Linked DNA regions of Homo sapiens: regions 2, 3, 4, 5, 6 and 7 are each linked to region 1. Evidence: promoter capture Hi-C in human tissues and cell types (Jung and others, 2019). All regions are on one chromosome and are shown on one strand. Each heading gives the region's core, a stretch centred on a gene start or on the middle of the fragment in contact. The rest is flanking DNA. Distances are from core to core; before and after follow the strand shown.

Region 1 (2,951 bases), core at 288-2,787:
TGAATCTGCGCGTACGACATGGTAACTTTTTAACTCCTGCCCGCGACGGTGGAGTGCTTAATCTAAGGTTTTTAAATAAAAAGGGCTCAGGGGTTGGTTTTATTATAACGTTTATTTCATTTCAGATTTCATGCGTAATTTAGCAAACGCTAGACAGACTCGGGCGATAAACACTTTCTTTTGTGGGGGGGGAAAGGCATTTTCATACACCACGCTTAATTTTATTTAGATTTAATAGCGATATCAGGGGCACTTCAAAGAAAGTTCTTTTTTCGCCCTTCTCCTAAGAATGCGAATCTGCTAGCAAAATCGCCTCGTGCTATTTTATGGCAAGGAAAATTAAAGGCCTTCTCCCCCCTCCTTCCCTACACACACTTTAGGGAGGAACACACACACACACACACACGCATGCACAAACACACGCACGCAGGCGCGAGCACACGCACACAGGCGCACAGAATAAACACCTCTATCCTCCATCACCTCTAACTTCCAACTTCTAATTGCAAGATAGATTTCAGCCTCTGTGGGGATCAGGACGATCTAAACATTTTAACTAAGATTATTGGGATAAATATTTCATAAAGAGCAGGGCAGATATTAAATTACTCCTATTGATTTTAGTATCACAGCCCAATTCCATTCCTCGGCCTCTTCAGTTTAATTGATCTCTTAAGGAGGCCAACTTCGCACCCGCAGAGGGTCTGGGTCTTGGACCGGGTGGCCCAGGGCAAGGTGTGCGGCCCGGCGGGTGCGCCCTCTTCGTGCGTGTCTTCTCGGGGTTCCCAGCCGCCTCGCAAGTCGCTCCGGTTACTGGGCTCAACCGATGTGCTCCCCCATAAAGTGGCTGAGTGACTGTGACTCCTTGGAGCCCACGCCGGCCGGTGAGAACCGGGAACCCCAGGCAGTGGGGAAGGGGAACAATTGTGAACGCCCTAGTGACGGAGGAGTGAGCAAGCGCCCAGGTCTCTCGAGGAGAACCCTAACTTCGAGGTTCCCCGTCTGCTTTACCCTCCAAGAAAATCCCAGGGCCGGCTAACTTGGGCGCCGCTAGCGGAGAACGGAGTGTTCACCCCGGAGCCGAAGTGCAGTAGACACTTAGCGACTTTCCGTGGCGAGTCTAGGGTCTTTGCCTGGCGACCTCATTGTCTGAGCGCCCCGTACCGCTCACCGCCCACCTCCCCGCCCCCTGCCCACCCGGTGGGTCTCGCTCCAGTTGGGGGTGGGGAGTTGGGAACAGTGTGAATGGGAAGGGGGTGAACAAAGCCAAGCTCCCGCCATTCTCCTCCGCCTGCACCCTCTCCAGCTCGATGCGCCCGGAGGCCGGGGCGCGCCCCCAGCGCACTGACGCCGGACCCCGAGGAGAGGCGGGCGCAGGGGACCCCAGAGCTGGGGTAGTGCGGGTTCGTGGCGGGGGCTTCGGCAGCCAGGACCCCGGACCACCTTAAGAGCGAGCCCCGCCCCGAGCCCGGAACTTGGGCGGCGCTGATTGGTGCAAATGTAATGGCTGAAATTGATTGCTGAAATGCAAAACTTGTTGCTGCTTCTCCCGGCGCTGGGCGAGAGGCAGACACAGAGAGGGGAGCCGAGACCCTCGGAACGCCCCACGCAGAGCCCCCCCGCTAGTCGGGAGAGGGGTGCGCAGACCCCCCAGAGCTGCCCCCGCGCCCCCCTCCCCCCATTCCGGGCTCTGAGAGCGCAGCGGGAACGCCTTAGCCTGCTCGCCCGGCGTGGCCCCCCGACCCGCGTACGCCCCCCTCCCTCAGGTCCGAGAGGGACTCGCGAAGCACCTCAGCGCGGAGGCAGGGAACCGGAGCCTTGGAGCGACCCAACCCCTCGTCTCGCTGCCCTCCCGCGCCTGCAACGGTGCGCGGAGACTCCGGCGAACTCAGACACCCAACGGCGGAGAACAGAAGCGGCAGGCGGCGGACGTGGCCGCGAAGCTGCGCGCCGAACGCAGCGCACCCGCTGCCGAGCAGAGGAGCCGCGCCTTTCCCCGACCCTCGGCTCCAGCCCCCGGCGCCTGCCGCCTCGCAGCCCCTCTGCGTCCTCGGCTCGGGGGCCGGCACCGGCGATGCCGAGCGGAGCCTCCAGTCCTCCGACCCGCTGAAGAAGCAGCAGCCGCTCGCCCGGAGCCTACGGGGATTGTGCGAGCGGATCGTGCTCGGTGGAGGCTCGGGCTGCGGGGCGCGGGGACTCCGGGGGGCGGGGGGAGGGACCGCTCTGTCGGTGCCCGGCGCCAGCCGCGGCTTTGAAGGGTCTCCCTCCCCTGCCCTTAGCAGCTCTGCCACGGACTCCGGGAGGCTGCGGGCGGCGTCCTGAGGGCTCCCCAGCAGACCCAATCGGACTTGAGAAGGTGATCGCTCTGCTCTCCCAACCCCCTTCCCTCCCCATTCCCCCCACTTAACTTTTTGTCTCCGTTCATCCGCGGCTTCGTCCCCTCCCCGCAGACCCACCCGCGGCTGTGACAACCGCCCGGGGCATGGGCCCCCCAACACGGCTCCTAGAGGCCCCGCGGCCTCGCAAGATGTGAGAGGCCCTCCCCGGGCAGAATCGGAGCTTCAGGAGAGGAGCTAATACCCCGCCCCCCGTCCCTCACATCAGGCGGGGTGGAGGTGCGCGCTGAGCCCCCGCGGTGCTGAGCGTCCCGGAGCGCCCAATCCTGGGCTGGAACGAGTAGCTGGCCGGAGGCGCGCCGCGGAGAGCCGGCTGTCATGCCCTATTGATCCCCCTCTGCCCCCCGCCAAGTATGTTTGGGCTGGACCAATTCGAGCCCCAGGTCAACAGCAGGAACGCTGGCCAGGGCGAGAGGAACTTTAACGAGACCGGACTGAGCATGAACACCCACTTTAAGGCCCCGGCTTTCCACACTGGGGGGCCCCCTGGCCCTGTGGATCCTGCTATGAGCGCGCTGGGCGAACCCCCGATCTTGGGCATGAACATGGAGCCCT
Region 2 (2,951 bases), core at 338-2,837, 760 kb after region 1:
CTCCTGGTGCCTCATCCCGGCAGCAGGGCAATTGATTCTTCCCCATAATCAGTTTATTTCATTAGCAATACATTTATTTGGTACATGCATTTTGCCACACTGCAGCAATGAAATGGCCCTGCAAGGTGCGGGGCATGGGGGAGCGCATGGAATATTAACCAAATCGCTATTACCGCCATGGCAGTGCTTAAAGATCATATGTAAATCAAATGTCAGGGGAGAAAATTGTAGCAAGGGCTGTCAGGAAACAATTTACCAGTGGTTAAAGGCACAGCTCATGGCTGGGTGAATTGTGAACTTTGCAAATGGAAAACCAAGCTGGCTTTCACTGTGGGAGCTGATGAGACCTGAAGGAAGAAGAGTGGGGAGGCTGGGAACATATTGGATATTTTGTACCCTGCAAAAATCAAAACAAACAAACAAAAATCGCATTCACTTTTAAATATTTGCAGCCAGTTGCTATGGTGAGTTCCCACTGAAAGTGAATCTTGCTTGTTGAAGAATTTCACCACCATTTCTGTCCTGTTTATCTAGAAGGAGGATTTCATTATGTGTAAAAAGCAGTTGTTGGTAAAAAGTAGTGTGGTCTCTTTCTTCCCAGGCTTGTAGAAATTGTTCCAGAAATGGTTTCCATGTTGGAAAAAAAAACCATACTGTTACTGTTATCATTGTAATATCTTATGTCCCCAACATGTGTGACCTGTAATTCTATTCTTGGGAATTTACCTTTGTGAGTTGAGTATGTGTGTGTGTGTGCCATGCATGTGTGTAATGCTTACGCAGGGTACTTTGCAAGCAGGGTTCTGTCATTCTTCTCAGTATTTCAAGCAGGAGGGGATTTGATACATAGAGTCAGAAGCTTCCTTACTTGTTGGAAAGACAGGGAGAGCAAAGCTCAGAAAAGCTTCCAGGAAATGCGGAAGCTCAGGGACCGCAGGAAATATTCATGGGTAATGTTGGCTGCAGGTATCCAGGAAATAGATGATTCCCAGGCATCAATAGAAGCCACCTGCACAACCCTCGCCTTCCCTCTGCACCTGCTGCAGCTACCTCTATGCGACTATGGCTTCTCCACCTTTCAAATTGCATGTGAGGGCTACTTCTCCCAGACAACTTCTCTCTCCATAATTCATTTCACGAGAAGAATATTGCTTTAGAATGTAAATCGTGACTCCAGCACCAGAAATGAGACCTTGGCCAAGTCAGCTCACCTCTGTGTGCCTCAGTTTTCCCAGTTCTGAAATGAGCTTAATAGTGCCTTGTCACAACAGAGACAGGGCCAGGATGAAGTAACGTGATGTAGGTAAAATGTCTAAGTACTTGGCACGTAGTAGGGACCCGGTTAATGTCAATTGCTTTTTGTTCTCTTTCTTTTACCCTTTGTGTAACCCTCAGAGGTTCATTTAAAGCCAATTCTCTCCGTATAGATATTGCCAGGGTACATGGAGCGATTTCCCAGGGTTCCTGGTTCCCCTGGGAAAAGTCCTCCCTTAAAGAAAGCCATTAAGGATTTAATTTCTTATCATCTTCCATTCCAACTAGCCAGAGTGTTATGAATAATATCCTATTAGCTGGAGACATTCAAACAATCACCCGTTAACATGTTCTTACGGCGAAATGATGAAGCGTCCTCCGAAATCACGGTGCTTATCTGCGGCCCACTCAGCAGGCACTCCATCACTCCCACCAACGACACATCTTGTATTGCTGTCTTGGATTCCAACTAATCACTGAGGGGCGGGCAGCGGGGTGAGAGGAGAGCCAGAAGCCTCCAGGACTGCAAGCTCCTCCTGCAGCCTGGCCTGCCCTGTGGTACATAGTAATGTGCCTATCCCAGAGGGGATTGAAGCCACTTCTTGAGAAATACCATGAAACAAATCACAAACACAGAGTGATTTTGTAACACGAAAACAAGGTCAATAAAACCATGATTGTGAACCGCATCAAGACAAGCACAGACAAAAATGAAGAAGAGTTACGTAGAGGAGTTATTGAAAAAAAAGGCAAATGAAACAGCTAAAATAGAGGCATCAACTTTCACGAGTTAGAGGAGCTCTTAGAGACTGGCTACTGCAGTTTTTAATTCCCTGCCCCAGCCCCTAGTAGTGTGCCCTAGAGGCTTAGTCCAGAGAGATGCCCCATACAGAGCATTCACCGCCACATAGGTTGGGGAAAAAAAAAAAAAGAAAACACCGAATATCTAAGTTCTTCTTGTTGCTTTGCAATGCACATCTCATGCTAAGGGTCAACCTACCTTATGGGAAAGACACCCATTTACTTTTTTTTTTTTGAGACAGAGTCTCGCTCTGTCGCCCAGGCTGGAGTGCAGTGGTGCCATCTCTGCTCACTGCAAGCTCCACCTCCCAGGTTCATGCCATTCTCCTGCCTCAGCCTCCCAAGTAGCTGGGACTACAGGCGCCCGCCACCATACCCAGCTAAATTTTTTTTGTATTTTTAGTAGAGACGGGGTTTCACCGTGTTAGCCAGGATGGACACCCATTTACTTTTATCAGTGCAAGGCTTACTAACCTATTGAACCACAGAATGTCTTTTTGTCCCCACATACACCAAAACATATTCCTTGGTAGTGACGGATCTTTCTACTAGCCAGTGAGCATAGTTTTCTTCTTTATTTAGTCTCTCTTGATGAATATATATATCTGTGTGTGAATATATACATATATATATATATTTTAATTTTTATACTGGTCAGAGAGCAAATGGAAGTGTGATGCATATTGCACAAAATGTAGCTCTACCCCAAGGAAAGAGGAAAACAAGCTAATAGATTTGGTGTTCCTACTATGTGCTAAGCATTTCAGATGCATTGTCCTGCTTACCTCTCACAATAACCCTATGAAGCACGCTCCGTTCTTCCCCCTTACTTAACCCATTGTTTCTCAGTGACAAAAATGAGGCCAGAACAACTAGCTAAAGAGTCTGACCCCGGG
Region 3 (2,951 bases), core at 185-2,684, 740 kb after region 1:
ATAAATAGTGAGCTATGGAAAGTTTCAGCAGCAGAGCACAGAATCAGGTTGGCTTTTGGGAATTTTAGAATGGTGGATTGGCTGGGTTGAGACCAGAGGCAAGGAGCCCAGGAGGAGACTGGGTAACAGCCCAGGAGAGGAGGGATAGTACCCACACTGGGGCAATGTGGGGAGGGGGATAAATTATCCCAATCTTGGAATTATGGAATCAGAGAATTTTACAGCTGAAAGTAACCTGGGACCTTTAAGTTGCCTCCACCCCTTTTCACAAAAGCTGGACCTTAGAGAATGGGGGTGACGCCATCCTGTCCAGTCTTACAGCAGGTGAGTTTAGGACTAGGGACTGAAATCAAGATCTTTATATTCTTAATCCTTAATCTCACTTCATAACCTCACTCTGTTTCCTAATCCCCACAACTTGACTAATAATAATTATTATTATTATTACTATAATATCTAATAACTGAGTCTTTTCCATTTGCTGGGCTCTGTGCTGAGCACATTAAGTGTAAAATCTCATTAAATCCTCCCAACATTCTGAAGGATGAGAACTCCCCATTTTACAAATAAGAAACCTGAGGCTCAAGAGGTGAAGCAATTTGAATTTGAACCTCAGGATCCTCGTGGGGATCATAGCAGCAGCTCTCGTGTAGAACCGCAGTAAAGGCTAAATGAATAAGGCATACATGTGCCTAGCACTGTGCCTAGCATGTTGAAAGGTCTTAGCAAATGACAGTGACAATGGTGATGATGATGACAATGACCAAGGACAAAAATGGTGGAGAGAGGTAGATCCGTACCTGGGCCTTGACTCCACTGTGTGACTTTTGGCAAAGCACCTAATTCTCTGGGGTTCAATTTCCCCCGTCTGTCAAATGAAAACAGTACTCTAGGGCCATGGTTCTCAACGTGTGTTGCCTGGGCTGGCAGCATTAGCCGTCACCAGGGAGCTTGTTGGAGATGCAAATTCTCGAGCCCTCCCTGAATGGACTAATTCTGGGACTCTGGGAGTGGGATCCAGTAATCTGTGTTTCACAAGCCCTCCTGGTAAGTCTGATGCATGTTCAAGTTTGAGAACCTCTGGTCTAGATTGCTAATTTTGCATTTTTTGAAATGACATCAATACTTCCTTCTATCAAATTCATGAAAAGGCAGGCACAGGAAGCAGATCAGAGCTGCAGCATTAAGGGTGAGGCAGCCACCAGGACCCACGGTTCTGTTCACTCTCCCCATCCTTGTCCCCCTGCTTGGAGGCTCCGCAGGGCCAGGTGTGAAGGCCAAGGTGATGCTGTAGCCTCTCTGCTCTGCATTAATGCCTCCTGCTAGCCAGAGCCCATGCTCCACAACAGCCTCCCTCCCTCCCACTCAGCCTCCCTTCCTGTTTACACATTCTGTAAAGTATGAATTTGTTGTGGCCTCATGAAACCTGGTCTATTTCTTTCCTTATTTTTTTTTTAAAGAGGCTTGAGACTGTAATTCGGTTAACTATTTCCCAGAGCCCCGGTTTTGTGGCTACAGCACAGCACGAGGCAGAGGAACGGAGACAGGTCCTCGGAAGCCTCTTTCCAGAAAATCTAATTTCATCATTGAGAAATCTTCTGTCTTAAACAGCCTCCACCACCGCCATAAATTTACATATTCTATATGCCGCCGGAACGGAGTGGGCCCTATTTGCATAATGCTGCTGGAGGGGCTCACGCTCCTCTTGAACCTGAATGTAGCAGGAGCGAGGAAGCAATTATTAAGCTGTAGACGTTGGCAGGGAGAGAGCCCTCAGATGGATTTCGACTCCAAACCTCATTCGCCAGGGCTGCTCATTACCGAAGGCCTGGATCCCAGGCTGAAGGTGGATCCCAGGGCTGGGAAAAATCAGTGTGAATTGCTTTCTCCAGGTTATGTCTGCAGCCAGGCCGAGGCCAGATATGGGTGAGTACCTTTGGTTTTCCAACATTGATCATTGGAACAATCGTCTCTCTGCTCCCAAGGTGGCAATTTGTTTCTTGGACAGTGTTGTCACTTTGCCTGTGCCACACATTCCTGCCCCTTTCCCTCACACACCTCCAAGTACCTACAAGACAGGTCAGCCAGGCTTTGTTCACTTCTTGCCAGCAATCTAGTGTAAGCCTCTCAGAAATGCTTAATTAACAGAAAGTGGTGTTTAACAATGTCCCAGCTGGAAAATGGCAAGTGGAAACAGGAATTCTCTCATGCCTCGGTGGTCCTGCTTAAAATCTACCCTTCACCATCCATACTCATGCTGGCTAGGAAGTTGGGCGTCTTTCCCTCTGTGGGATCTCTGATGGGGCAATCAAGTATTTTGGGGCTCAGGTTCTCAGCCCTGGGGTCATTTGGTGTTCCAGGATCCATAGGTCACTCTCTACAGTTTCTGGCCCTTCCAGGGCTGTGGGCTTAGCCTCCAAGTTACTTTATGTCCTGCCACTCGCAACCTCAGTAGCCCATGGGTGCAAATGGCCACCTTTGGTTCCATAGTGACCATCTTGGATTTTACTCTGTAAGGCGCCATCTTGGTGTTTACTCTGTAGGGTGCCATCTTGGTTTTTATTCCATCTTGGATGTAAATGGCCTCCTATATGACTGATGGTGTTCAAAGAACAGGTCCTGAGCCTAGGGCAGTTTTTTGGTGGAACTTTAAGCCCAGCCCTTCCTGAGAGTTTTTAAACCAGGTGAATTCACGAACCACTCAGCTAGAAATCTAGCTGTCCACTTCCACAGGTAAACACCATGGGCATATTTGCTAAGTGATACCAATAAATGTGCTAGGCTTATACACTTATTGACTGAATGAAATATTGTCAGGCAAACCATGATCAGCTGATGGAGGAAGTATCACCAGCACTTTGCCTCTTATACTTAATAATGGATCATGTAATTTTAATTTTTCCAAAAAAACAGCTTTTATTTCTGAGGAAGTGGAAATACATTTGAAAACA
Region 4 (2,951 bases), core at 139-2,638, 680 kb after region 1:
GCTGGGAGCAGGGAGGGCGGTGAGGGCCTCTCTCCAAAAGCCAGTGATTAATCTTGAAACTGGGACGCTTTCATTTTCCTGCAAACTGGAGTACCATGTAGAGAAAATCACAGCACACATGCCATGGGCAGGAGAGCACAGTGGGTATGAGTGTCTGACTCAGCCAGAGCCTGGTTCGAATCCTGACTGTGCCACTTCCAGGCTGTGTTACCCGGGGTAAGTTACCTGCCTTTCCTGAGCCTTTTCTATGCTCTCAGGGTTTCTTTGTAAGGTTTAAATTACATAATATCCATGAAAGGCTTTATGCAGTACTTTCAAAAGCATCCAATCTATACATACTAATTATCTCTGGGAACATGCCTCACTTCTAAAGAATGGCTTTGTTTTACATGATTGTAAAGTGCCTCAAGGCAGGGTGGAAGCTGCTCTGAAATCAGAATTGGAGGCCTGGGCTCCATTTATGTAACTTATTTGGAGACCTGGGGCAAGCTCCTTGAATTCCTTCTTAAAAATGCAAAGAAGAAACCAGTGGGATGAAGAGGATCACAGGCCAGAGCCTTGCAAGCATCAGACCTATTTCCTGTGAAGACCCCTCCTGGCATTATCAGTCCCATTTCTCAGATGCGCACACACACTGAGGCCCAGAGAAGTGAAGTTAGTTGTATGTGGCAGTGTGATGCCAGCAAGAGCTGGGGTTGCAACAATCGTGTCTGACCCCAGTCTCTGGGCCCTTTCTGCCTCCCTTTCTTCAGTCTTTCAATAATAATGATCGCAAAGGCTGGGCACGGTAGCTCACGCCTGTAGTCCCAACACTTTGTGAGGCCGAGGCGGGCAGATCACCTGAGGTCAGAAGTTCAAGACCTGCCTGGCCTACATGGTGAAACCACATCTCTACTAAAAATATTAAAATTAGCCAGGTGTGGTGGCAGGCGCTTGTAATCCCAGCTACTCGGGAGGCTGAGACAGGAGAATCGCTTGAACTCGGGAGGCGGAGGTTGCAGTGAGCTGAGATCGCGCCACTGCGCTCCAGCCTGGGTGACAAGAGTAAGACTTTGTTTCAAAAAAAATCACAAATAATAACTACCCCATATTTAGCACTTTCTCTGCATCGGGCACTACTTAAGGACTTTACACTGTCCACCCCTTTAATTCTCACCCCAAGCTTCTGAGGCAGGCTCTGTAATTCCCCATTTCCCAGATAAGGAAATTCAGGCTCAGCTCCTGAGAGGCAGAGTCAGGACTTGAACCCAGATCTGAGTCTGTGTCCCAAGGAGTTACCCCTCGCCCCCACCCAATTCATCCCCCCGCCTTTTTTTTTCTATCTCCCTTCATGACACGCACAGGTGTTAAAAGCAGCCCCAAACATACAAAATTAAAAAATCGAGGCAAGAAATAGTTGCCTTTCCCATCCTTTCCGCACACAGGAAAGGAAGGAGGAGAAAGCGTCCACAGAGGGAAAAGGTCCAGCTTCTCGTTCTTTGCCATCACACTGACTTTTTAAAAATTTAACCAGCCACCTTTTCTCACTTCCCCAGTCATCCCAGTTACTAACTACGACCAGAAGCTCAGGCCATAAATAAAGCGCACAAATTTCACAGATGCCCCGGGAAACTGGAGCCGGGAAATGGCTCAGCATATGTCTAAATGGTTAATTGACTTAATTGCTGTGAGTTGGGCGATTAGCTCACTTGATCCACCCCGGTGGCCACAAAACGTCCTTAATGGTGTTCAGTTTATTTGTATGTTAAGCTCCAGTTACTATTACGGGGAACTTTTCGATTGCTGATTACCTCGTAAATATATAATTGTAGTCACAGGAAAAAAGAAGCCAGGAGCCGCTCATGAAAGGCTTTTCAAGGAATGGTGCAAAGCACTATTCATTCACCCACTCGGCAATTGTTTATTGGACACCTATTATGTGCAAAGTCCTCTGTGAAGCCTTGGAGATAGAGTAGGGAATACATCAGGCAAAACCCCTGCCTTCGACTGGGCACAGTGGCTCACGTCTGTAATCCTAGCACTTCAGAAGGCAGAGGTGGGTGGATCACCTGAGGTCAGGAGTTCGAGACCAGCCTGGCCAACATGGGGAAACCCCATCTCTACTAAAAATACAAAAATTAGCCAGATGTGGTGGCTCACACCTGTAATCCCAGCTACTCTGGAGGCTGAGGCAGGAGAATCGCTTGAACCCAGGCGGTGGAGATTGCAGTGAGCCAAGATCATGCCACTGCATTACAGCCTGGGCCACAGAGTAACTCCGTCTCAAAAAAAAAAAAAAAAAAAGAAAATCCCTGCCTTCGTGTAAACACTCTGGAGCAAGAGGAGACAGGCAGGAAATAAGTAAATATCTATGTGTACATGAAATAATTTTACATAAGGACTACAAAGAAAATAAAACTGAGTGATGGGATGCAATGAGCCAGAAAGAGTTAGGCTTGGGCTAGGATGGTCAGAGAAGGTCCCTCTGGGGACTGGTATTTGGGCTAGACATGAATGAGAAGTAGGGATTGCCTCTGCAAGAGACGTGGGCACAGTGCTGGAGGTAGGGGGCCAGTGAGTTTGCATGAAGACCCTGAGATGGGAATGACTTTATCCTACCTGAGAAATGGGAGGGAGGCCGACACAGGACAAGAGAATGGAGATGAAGGCAGAGACCAAGCCCTGCAGTATCAGGAGCAAGAAGCTTGGATACATTTTTCTAAGTCCAGTGAAAAGGCATCCTGTGATTCTATTTATGTCTTCAAAGATCACTGTGCTGTTGAATGGAGTGTGGATTATTGGGGTGGGAGGAAGACGGGAAGCTGGGTGGTCAGTTAGAGAGCATCTTCAGCCACCCAGGGGAGAGAGGATGACTTGGACCAGGTTGTAGTGGAGTAGATGCAGAACTGTGGATGCTTGTGGGCATATTCAGGAAGTAGCTGGAAGAAGACTTAGTTTGGAAGACACGAAGA
Region 5 (2,951 bases), core at 143-2,642, 650 kb after region 1:
TTTGGTGGCTGGATTATGGGCTGGTGTCAAGGAAGTCCCCTCGTCTTCTAAGCAAACCACACTTGTTCCCTCTTCACTCAATTGCTGTCCTTTCAACACACACGCACATGCACACACACGTACATGCGCACACACGCATGCATGCCTGATGGGCTTTTTTCTTCCTCTTAAAGTGATACAAAAGAAGCTCCTTTTCTTTATGTTTATCTTTTCCATTTCCTGCCCCTCCTAACCCAGGAAGTCTGGTTGCCGTTGTCTTATTCTGTGTGAGCCAATGTGTGCATGCATGCGTGTGTGTGCATGTGTGTGTGTGTGCTTGTGTGTGTGTGTGTTTCCTGGTCATTATTTTTCCTAACTGCATCCCCTTGAGTCGAAACTCAACCACGTTTGGAAAATAAATAGTGCTAGTGCTACATTTGTTAAAGCTGGAGCCCGTTGTCATGAGCAGCCTGGTTGTTGGGTACTCTGTGCGTGTGTCCAGAGAAATGGAATCATTCACCGGGCCAGGCTCTCTGGCTAAGCTAGGAGCAGTATTCTGTGACTCCCTTCAATGCCTGGTTTTCTGGGTTTCTTTGTTTGTTGGTTTGGTTAGATTGGGACACCCAGAAGGGCTGACATGTTTAGCCAAAGCCAGCATGCTTAGTGACGTTCGAGCATTTTAAGAAAATTACAAAAGCTCGCGTTTCCTGAGAACCTACTCTGAGCCAAGCACTATGCGACAGCTGCATCTACAGTGTCTGGATTGGATTTAGTTTTCTAGGTGTGATTCACCCAGCATGCCAGAGCCCTTGGATGTAGAATCTGGCATACAATAGGCAATTAGTATTAATAATAACAATAACTAGAACTCATTTGCATACTGTGTCCTGGGCAGTATGTAAATCTTACATGGTATTAATATTTTGTAGATTAATATTATATATTTAGTAATAATGTATCTGATTTAATGAAAAGTGTTTCCAACATACAGATAAAGATAGAGATAATATCATAAACACCAGCTTTTAAAAATCTTAACCTTATGGTCTCTTTGCTGCAGATTTTTTTCTTCTTGAACAAGACACTGCAGATAGAATCACCCTCTGTGTGCCAACCCTAATCTCAGTTTTCCCTCCTATCCTCCTACCACCAGCCTAAATTTGGAGTTTATTATGCCAATAGATGTTTTTAAATGTTTATTACACGATTATGTATCCATAAACATTATGTCGTGTTGCTCATGCAGGTTTTTAAACTTTATATAAATGGTATCTAGCCCTACATATCATTCTGCATCTAGCTTTTTTCTTCATACTTTACATAGATAATCACATTTAATCCTCGTAACAGCCTTAGGTGTCAGGCACCATTTTACGGATGAGGAAGGCGAGGTGCGGAAAGGTTAAAGCACAAACTCTAACATTAATTAAAGCTAAATATACATTTAAGCTGTGACTCAGCAATTTTATTCCTGAGTATATACCCCTCGAAAAACGAGTGTGCAGGGCTATTGAAGACTTGCACAAGAATGCCCATAAGAGCTTTATTCAAAAGAGCTAAAAAATAGAAACAACCAAAATGTGTATCAATGGGGAAATGGATAAACAAACTGTGATGAAGTCACACGGTGGAATATTATACAGCAAAGAAAAAGAATGAATGACGGCTGCACCCAATAGGAAAGATGCATTTCAGAAATGGAATGCTGAGTCAAAGAAGCCAGGCACAAAGGAAACATATTGTATGGTTCCACCTATATGAAGTTCAGAAATGGACAGAACTAGTTGATGATAACAGGGATCAGAGCAATGATTACTTCTGGGGGTAGAGGGCAAGATTGAGAAGGTCATGATGGCAGGGGCTGCTGGGTTATTGGAAATATTCTGCTCCTAATCGTAGTGCTGGTTACACAAGGTTATGTGTATTAGTCTGACCAGGCTACCATAACAAAATACCACAGACTGGGTAGGTTGGACAACCGAAGTTTACTTTCTTACAATTCTGGAAGCTGGAAGTGTAAGATCAGGGGCCAGCAGGTTTGGTCTCTCTTGAGATCTCTCTCCTTGGCTTGCAGGTGGCCGTCTTCTCGCCGTGTCCTCACATGGCCTTTCCTCTGTACACATGCATCCGTGCATGACATCAGTAAAATGGATTAGGGCCCACCCTAATGGCCTCATTTTACTTTACTTCTTTAAAGATCTTGTCTTCAAATACAGCCATTTTCCCAAGTTATGAAGGTCAGGACTTCAATAGATAACTTTTCAGGGGGTGGGAGGACACAATTTAGTCTACAACACTATGCACATGCAGAAATTCTTCAGGTTTTGCTTTTAGATTTATGCATTGTATTATATGTGTGCTGTGCCTCAGTGATGATGATGGTGACGATGACAAATCACTTGTGCAGATTCCTACATGTCACCCCAGCAGAGCCTATTTGAATCCAGACTGACTTCTGTATCTTGCACATGACCCTCACTCTGTGAATATTTACAAAAGGCGGGTGGAAGGGTTGGTAGAGTTACCTGCCAAAGGTCAGGCACTGATTAAGTGGAAAAGGTAATATTTGAACCTAGTTCTTCCTGACTCCACATCCAAACTGTTTTTTTTTTTTTGGTTTTTTTATCTGACCACTTCCAGGAACAAAGCCAGGGCTCTCTGGGCACCTGAGTATCCATTCTCTTTGTATCATCCATTCCATGTCCAGAACACATTCACATCCATGCTTATAGTTCCTCATTGCCTGAAGCCTGCTGGGTGGGGCATAGTATGAATACTTGCCCTCATCATCCCCATTTCACAGATGCATAAACAGAGGCCAGTCAGTATGCCTGCAGACTGTGGATAGAGCCTGAAGCCTCAGGTTAGGCAGCTTGCATCCAGCTGTGAGTCCCAGCTAGGGGAACTGAGTCAGCCGCCATCACTCCGTGTCTCGGTTTTCTGACCTCTCAGGTGGGTATCATGATGCTGGC
Region 6 (2,951 bases), core at 208-2,707, 630 kb after region 1:
CAGGTCCTGTTTCTCTGCCATTCCCACCTGCCTGTCATTGCAGAGACTCCCAGTTTCTTGTCTCTTCCCAGAAGACACTATAGAAGCCTCCAGACCACGTGGCGGGTGGGGTGATGAGGGAGAGCGCTGCACACTTACAAATTACCGCAGCAAAATGGATTGCCTTGACAAAATGTAATGTTTTGTGACAGAGCCCAAATATGCATTTCATTCTTGAGAAGCAGACTCAAGGAACTCGTTGGAAATATTAAATTAAGCAGTGTAACAGCTGAGATAATTGGGTTTTCTGCCCTGTTGCCTGTGATTTTGTGTGGCGTTTGAGGCGGTTGGGCAGTTCTGTTTGACTGGGGAATGGGAGAGGCCCCTGGGAAGCTCTTGGAAAGTGGAGGTTGGGTGTGGTTCAACCTTATGTTGAGATGGGAGAGACCCTGAGCACCACCAATCCTCTGGGTCCTCAAATCAAAATCTCCCAGCTAAAAATGATTGCAGAGGCCATGTGGTTTGATGCCTGCCCCCATTTCATGGATGAAGAAACTGAGTCCTTAGGGAGATGGCTTAGCAAGATAATGGCAGAGCTGAGACATAAACTGCTGACTTTGAAAAGCTTTTTCCACAATATCATCCCTCCTCTTTATTATGGTCCTGCAACCGCAGGGCTTTGAGCCATTTTGCTTGTAATGCGCCCCAAAGATCCTGGGTTCTGGGATAGATAGACACATTGCAGGTGACAGTGCAGCCTCTCCTTCACTGGGGGAACCTTCTGCAAGTCTTGGCTGCTCGGAGCCTCAGTTTCCCTCTGTAAAATGGGGGTCAGCATGTTTGCATTGGAGGGAATGCAATGAGATTTTTAACAGGGCTGATTTGTAGATGAACCCCCTGTGGATATGGTTAAAGACGAAGATTTTGATTCAGCAGGTCTACAATGGGGCTGGAAATCCTGCATTTCTAACGGGCTCTGCAGGGATGTTGATGCTGCTGGGATCATCCTTCAAAGAGCAAGTTTATAACATATAGAACTGCTCAACCAGGGCTTGGTATGCAGTAGGCACTCTATCAATACACTCCCTTTATTCTCCTGTTATTCCTTCCAGGACTTTGTCCTAACCTACATTTCTGAAAACTCAGCCAGAAAGAAGATGGGAGGCAGGCAGCACGTCTGATGGGTCCCTTGGGAGCCATAAACATCCAATTCAACCTTGTGTGCTCCTGGTCCTCACCCGAAATGACCAGGCCAACTTTGTGGAAGGGGTGAGTCATGGCTGACAAGCTTTGCAGGCCTCCACAGCGGCACACTACAGAACTCAGCAGGGGAAATATTTCCACGTTTGCACATTTTCCAGCAGTTGGTCCAGGAATGCATGCCCAGTTAGCCTTGGCACACACTGGCCCAGCCCAGTACTGCCTCTCTGATGTCAAGGGAGTTTCTTTTTCAAGTCCAACTCAAAACACATTCCTGGACACCCAGAAATAAAGCTGGAAAATGGAGACCCTCTCTCTGTCTCTGGGCCACCCTCTGAGATGCCTTTCATCTTACAGCACTGACAAGATCATGTGGAAACTGATTCAGTCAAGTAGCCGCTGTGTGACCACAGCCAAGGCATCTCCCTTCTCTGAGCCTCAGTTTCCTCATCTATAAACTCTCAGCTGTGGAGTATGGAGCTTATGGATATGGATCCTGGAGTTTCCATCAGTTTCAATCCCAGCTCCATCACTTCCAAACTAGGTGAACTAGCTCTCCAATTCTCAGTTTCCTGATGTATCAATACAGGTTAACAGTAAAGTCTACCTCACAGCCCAGCTCTGGGAATTCAGCAAGATGAAAACTTATGTAATCTCAGCTCAGGGTTGGGCATAAGACAAGAGTTCAGCAAGTGCTATTATTATTTGCAAACATGAAAATTTATCTACCTACTGATTTACTGCTGGACTTTGATCTTGATTGGTGTCTACCCCAAATTGCTACTTCAATGTAATCAGCAGCTTTTATGGAGTCACTTAGGGATGATGATATTAACTTGCCAAAAGTTATTGGACGTTTATAAACCAGGCATTGTTCTCAATTCTTTACTTGTGTTATATGACAGATAATTCTCACAACAACTCTGAAAGATTGATTACGGTGAAAAATATAGTATTATTCTCTATTTTACCAATGAGGAAACTAAGGCACAGGAAGCTTAAATAACTTGCTAGAGGTCACACAGTTGAAGTATCAGTCAGGTATGGCCACAATAATGTTACATGACACGTGACCATAGACATCTTGGAGGAAAACAAGTGTTGACTTCTCCCTCATGCATGTAGGAGTTAATGGGGGTCTCCAAGACTGGTCTTGACTGAGCTCAGCCCCAGATCTTCTCCACTGATCTCCCATCCTCCTTGGACCTACAACTACTCATGGCAAAAGGCAAGGTCCCATGGGCCAGAGGAAACCACATGTTCAAGCCCAGAGTCAAGGGTTGGGGGAATATTTGTCCCCACACCTTGAAGCCCCAGCAAAGGTGTGAACATGTCATCTTCCTACACAGAAGTCAAGAACTGAGAGCATTAATTCAACATCCCACAGCTGATGGGGGATGGGGAGAGGAGTGAGGCAATTGACCCAGAGAGACTGATGGAAGAACTTGTTATCGTAACTGCTGTACCAGAAGTCTCTCTATCTCCTTAGAGTGTTGAGTAAACATGTGTAGAATGCTGCTCTCTGAAAACAGCTCTAGGTGGCTCAATCATGGCTTATGTAAGACTATTTGACATAATTTTATAGAAGATAAAATATTGGAATAATGTCCACTTTCCTTTGAGAAAGTCTAGGGAAGCAGTATTATTTATTTATCCATCCATGCATGAACCCATTAATACACCTACCATAAAATCCATACATCCATTTATCTATTCATCCACCTGTCCTAAAATCCATCTCTCTATCCATCTGTCCATCAACCTACCCACCT
Region 7 (2,951 bases), core at 137-2,636, 610 kb after region 1:
ATAATGATATGTCAGTGTTAGTTCATCTATTGTAAGGATGTTGATGGTGCGGGAGGCTATGTTGGTGGGTGAGGGATAGGTGGGAACTCACTGTACTTTCTTCACAATGTTGCTGTGAATTTGAAACTGTTCTAAAAAATAGTCTATTAGAGAAATAGAAGCTCTATGGATTTATGCAACCATCAATAACTGTAACACCTTTCCCTGCCCAAAACCGTTCCATGGTTTCTCAGTGTCCTCACAACAAAGCCATGCTCCTTAGCCTGGTCTCCAGGGCCCTGTGAGGTCTGGCTCTGCTCTTCTCCCCATCACCCCTTACTCAGCACTTCTGAACATCTCTGAGTCCTGGGATAAATTCATTCTCATTCCAGAGTCTTCACTCAGGCTGTTCTCTCTAGAAGCATTTTTCCCCTCACTTCACCATCACTGTTTGCCAAAAATATTCGTATATGCTCATCAAGTCTTGGCTTAGGTGTCACCTCTTCCAGGTATCCTTCCCTGATTGCCCCTGACTGAATCAGGTGGTTTCCCTGGGCTTCCACAGCACACACACCCCACCCACTTTGCTTCCCACAATTTGACACTAATCACCCTCATGTATAACCATGTTCACGTCTCTCTCCCCTGAAATACTATCAGCCCAATGGGGTCCAATAATTTCTTTACTATTAAATCCTGAGTGTAAGCACAGGGCCTAGCACATAAGGAGTGGTCAAAAAATGTGGATTGAATGGATGACTGAACCCAGTGGCTTCCACAGCCTTTCAGTCCCTCCCCTCTTAAATCCTGTTTCTCTGCACACAAAAGTCTTGATGGTGGCTGAGGCATCCTGGCAGATAGCTGACTTCATTCTCATAGTAGTCTGCTTCAGACCTATTTCTCTGTTAGGTGAACAAGATCCTGCAGGTCCCTGATCAGCACTGCAGACTTCCTGAAGCTGCAACATCTCAAGAGTGGTGAGGTGGAGTCTGTTCCTGGGGGCATTCTGCCATGTCTCCTGTAAGATAGAAGGGCAAGGGTTATGTAGCTCATGTCAGGAGCTCCTCACTGTGCTATCATAGCAAGGCCCCCAGGTGAGCTGGCACAGGTGGTAGAATCAAGAGTGAAGAGGAGCAGAAACAGACATGAGCTAAAAGCCTGTCCTGCCCCTTGTTCCATATTCCAGGTGCTCTCCAAGTCCTTGGCGAGCTGTTTAGGTAGCAGGCTCTATAATGGCTTTCAAAGTAACGGGTGAGTATGGGCCATTTACTGGGGAAACTACATCCCATGTCTTCTATTTGGAAGAGTACCTTCTGATCGGGCCACGATATCTGCAGAAAGACTTACCTTTGGAAAGCTCTTTTGCTTCCACTCCCTCATTACAGCCTTTCTATGATTCTGCAAGTGGTACAGAAAGTAAGGCTCAGAAACTAGAATGGGTTTCCCTGATGCCACCCAATGTATCAGTCCAGGCTCCATGCAGGAAACAGAATCCAGCCTAGGTATCTTGAGCAGGAAGGGATTTAACACAGGGAATCCAGGGCATGTAAGACCACTGGAAGCAGAGAAGGAGCAAGTTCTAGGTTAAGTCTCCTAGAATAACTCCCAGAATACACAGAGCAGAGGCACTTGGACAGTTACTGCCAGACTTATGCCAGATGCAAGGCGCTGTTGTATTTCTAACACCACTGCCTCTTGATGTCTAGGATGTGGGAGAATGAAGTGAGGTCCCCGTTGCAGGAAAACCTCCAGTTACTACCACCACACTATTTGCCGATAGCAATAGCCACAAACTGCTAGAGGATGGACTCACATTAGCTTCCTAAATCTCACATCAATACCTCTCATTGGCAGGAACAAATCTGCATCCAGAAGCCTAGCTTCAAGAGAGTCTAGAAATATCCTGCTTAGGCCAGGTGCGGTGGCTCACGCCTGTAATCCCAGCATTTTGGGAGGCTGACGTGAGTGGATCACCTGAGGCCAGGAGTTCGTGATCAGCCTGACCAACATGGCGAAACCCCGTTTCTACTAAAAAAAAAAATACAGAAATTAGCCAGGCATCGTGGTGAGCACCTGTAATCCCAGCTACTAGGGAGGCTGAGGCTGGAGAATTGCTTGAACCTGGGAGGCGGAGGTTGCAGTGAGCCGAGATTGTGCCACTGCACTCTAGCTTGGGCGACAGAGAGAGACGTCATAAAAAAAAAAGAAAAAAGAAAAGAAAAAAAGAAAGGAAAGAAAGAAAGGAAGGAAGGAAAGAAGGAAAGAAAGAGATATCCTGCTTAACTTTGCTTCCTCTCCAGGCCAAAGAAGGTGGGATGGAAGTTCAGTGAAGCTGCACAGATGACCCAGCACTTAAGAAACTGAATTCCAGCTCTGCCACTCTCTAATTGTGTGGTTTTTGGCAAGTGACAAAAATATGATTTGCTTTCTTGTCACTATGACATGACAATGCCAGCAGCCATCTCCTAGCAGGGCTGAAAGGGTTAAATAAGATGATGCTTGCACAATGCTCAGTGCAGAGCCTGGAATACCATTAAGCCCTCAACACATGGTAGGCAGTGAGACCATTATTATTATCACAGTTTTAGAAAAGACTAGCTCCTCTCATCTCCCTACCGACACCACCACCACCAAAAAAAAAAAAAAAAAAAAAAAAATCAGGTTACACAATCACACGAAGTATTTTCCTACCACTTCTAAGAACAAGGACTCCTTGGAGAAATATAATTCAGATGCAGAATTCGTGAATTACCAGGGCTTTTCTTTAGCTTTTGGGAGACAATGGGAAAGAATACTGAAAACCAAATGTATTGAGGGGAAAGCTTAGTATACATTTAATGCCCCTCTGTGGGGCAGCTCCAAGAAGGGAGGAGAAAGAAAAAGAGGTTCTTGGTATTAGTTCTCCCAGAAGCAAACGAATGCCTCACTTTGCTTAGGACTACAGAGCATGTGAAGAAAATAGTGGAATATCT

The links. The method cuts DNA at HindIII sites, captures the fragments that hold promoters and counts their contacts. A contact is called where the count stands out against the background at its distance.
Region 2: a fragment that was not itself captured here is called in contact with the fragment with the promoter of MN1 in region 1 in 1 of the 25 tissues and cell types used here (dorsolateral prefrontal cortex).
Region 3: a contact is called between a fragment that was not itself captured here and the fragment with the promoter of MN1 in region 1, in 2 of the 25 tissues and cell types used here (dorsolateral prefrontal cortex and lymphoblastoid cells).
Region 4: a contact is called between a fragment that was not itself captured here and the fragment with the promoter of MN1 in region 1, in 2 of the 25 tissues and cell types used here (dorsolateral prefrontal cortex and mesenchymal stem cells).
Region 5: a contact is called between a fragment that was not itself captured here and the fragment with the promoter of MN1 in region 1, in 3 of the 25 tissues and cell types used here (aorta, dorsolateral prefrontal cortex and mesendoderm cells).
Region 6: a contact is called between a fragment that was not itself captured here and the fragment with the promoter of MN1 in region 1, in 4 of the 25 tissues and cell types used here (dorsolateral prefrontal cortex, mesenchymal stem cells, neural progenitor cells and 1 more).
Region 7: a fragment that was not itself captured here is called in contact with the fragment with the promoter of MN1 in region 1 in 2 of the 25 tissues and cell types used here (dorsolateral prefrontal cortex and hippocampus).

Annotation. Positions count from the first base shown.
Region 1 is chr22:27,800,342-27,803,292 of GRCh38, reverse strand. MN1 (MN1 proto-oncogene, transcriptional regulator) reads left to right here and starts at 1,537. Exons shown (of 2, transcript NM_002430.3): 1 at 1,537-2,951. The coding sequence starts at 2,750. The HindIII fragment of the contact is 23,630 bases long and covers 1-2,951 here.
Region 2 is chr22:27,040,749-27,043,699 of GRCh38, reverse strand. No RefSeq gene overlaps it. Among named protein-coding and RNA genes, the nearest start is that of LINC01422, 140 kb to the right of the region's middle. The HindIII fragment of the contact is 3,673 bases long and covers 1-2,951 here.
Region 3 is chr22:27,059,084-27,062,034 of GRCh38, reverse strand. LOC284898 (a long non-coding RNA gene) reads left to right here and starts at 797. Exons shown (of 4, transcript NR_164796.1): 1 at 797-1,047; 2 at 1,461-1,926. The HindIII fragment of the contact is 5,422 bases long and covers 1-2,951 here.
Region 4 is chr22:27,121,508-27,124,458 of GRCh38, reverse strand. No RefSeq gene overlaps it. Among named protein-coding and RNA genes, the nearest start is that of LINC01638, 100 kb to the left of the region's middle. The HindIII fragment of the contact is 5,567 bases long and covers 1-2,951 here.
Region 5 is chr22:27,147,763-27,150,713 of GRCh38, reverse strand. LOC107985534 (a long non-coding RNA gene) reads right to left here. Exons shown (of 3, transcript XR_001755607.2): 3 at 1,490-2,951. Among named protein-coding and RNA genes, the nearest start is that of LINC01638, 75 kb to the left of the region's middle. The HindIII fragment of the contact is 6,381 bases long and covers 1-2,951 here.
Region 6 is chr22:27,169,004-27,171,954 of GRCh38, reverse strand. No RefSeq gene overlaps it. Among named protein-coding and RNA genes, the nearest start is that of LINC01638, 54 kb to the left of the region's middle. RefSeq lists an enhancer at 586-1,785. The HindIII fragment of the contact is 4,126 bases long and covers 1-2,951 here.
Region 7 is chr22:27,186,910-27,189,860 of GRCh38, reverse strand. LOC105372977 (a long non-coding RNA gene) reads right to left here and starts at 2,341. Exons shown (of 3, transcript NR_171770.1): 1 at 2,264-2,341; 2 at 1,327-1,377; 3 at 646-997. The HindIII fragment of the contact is 4,365 bases long and covers 1-2,951 here.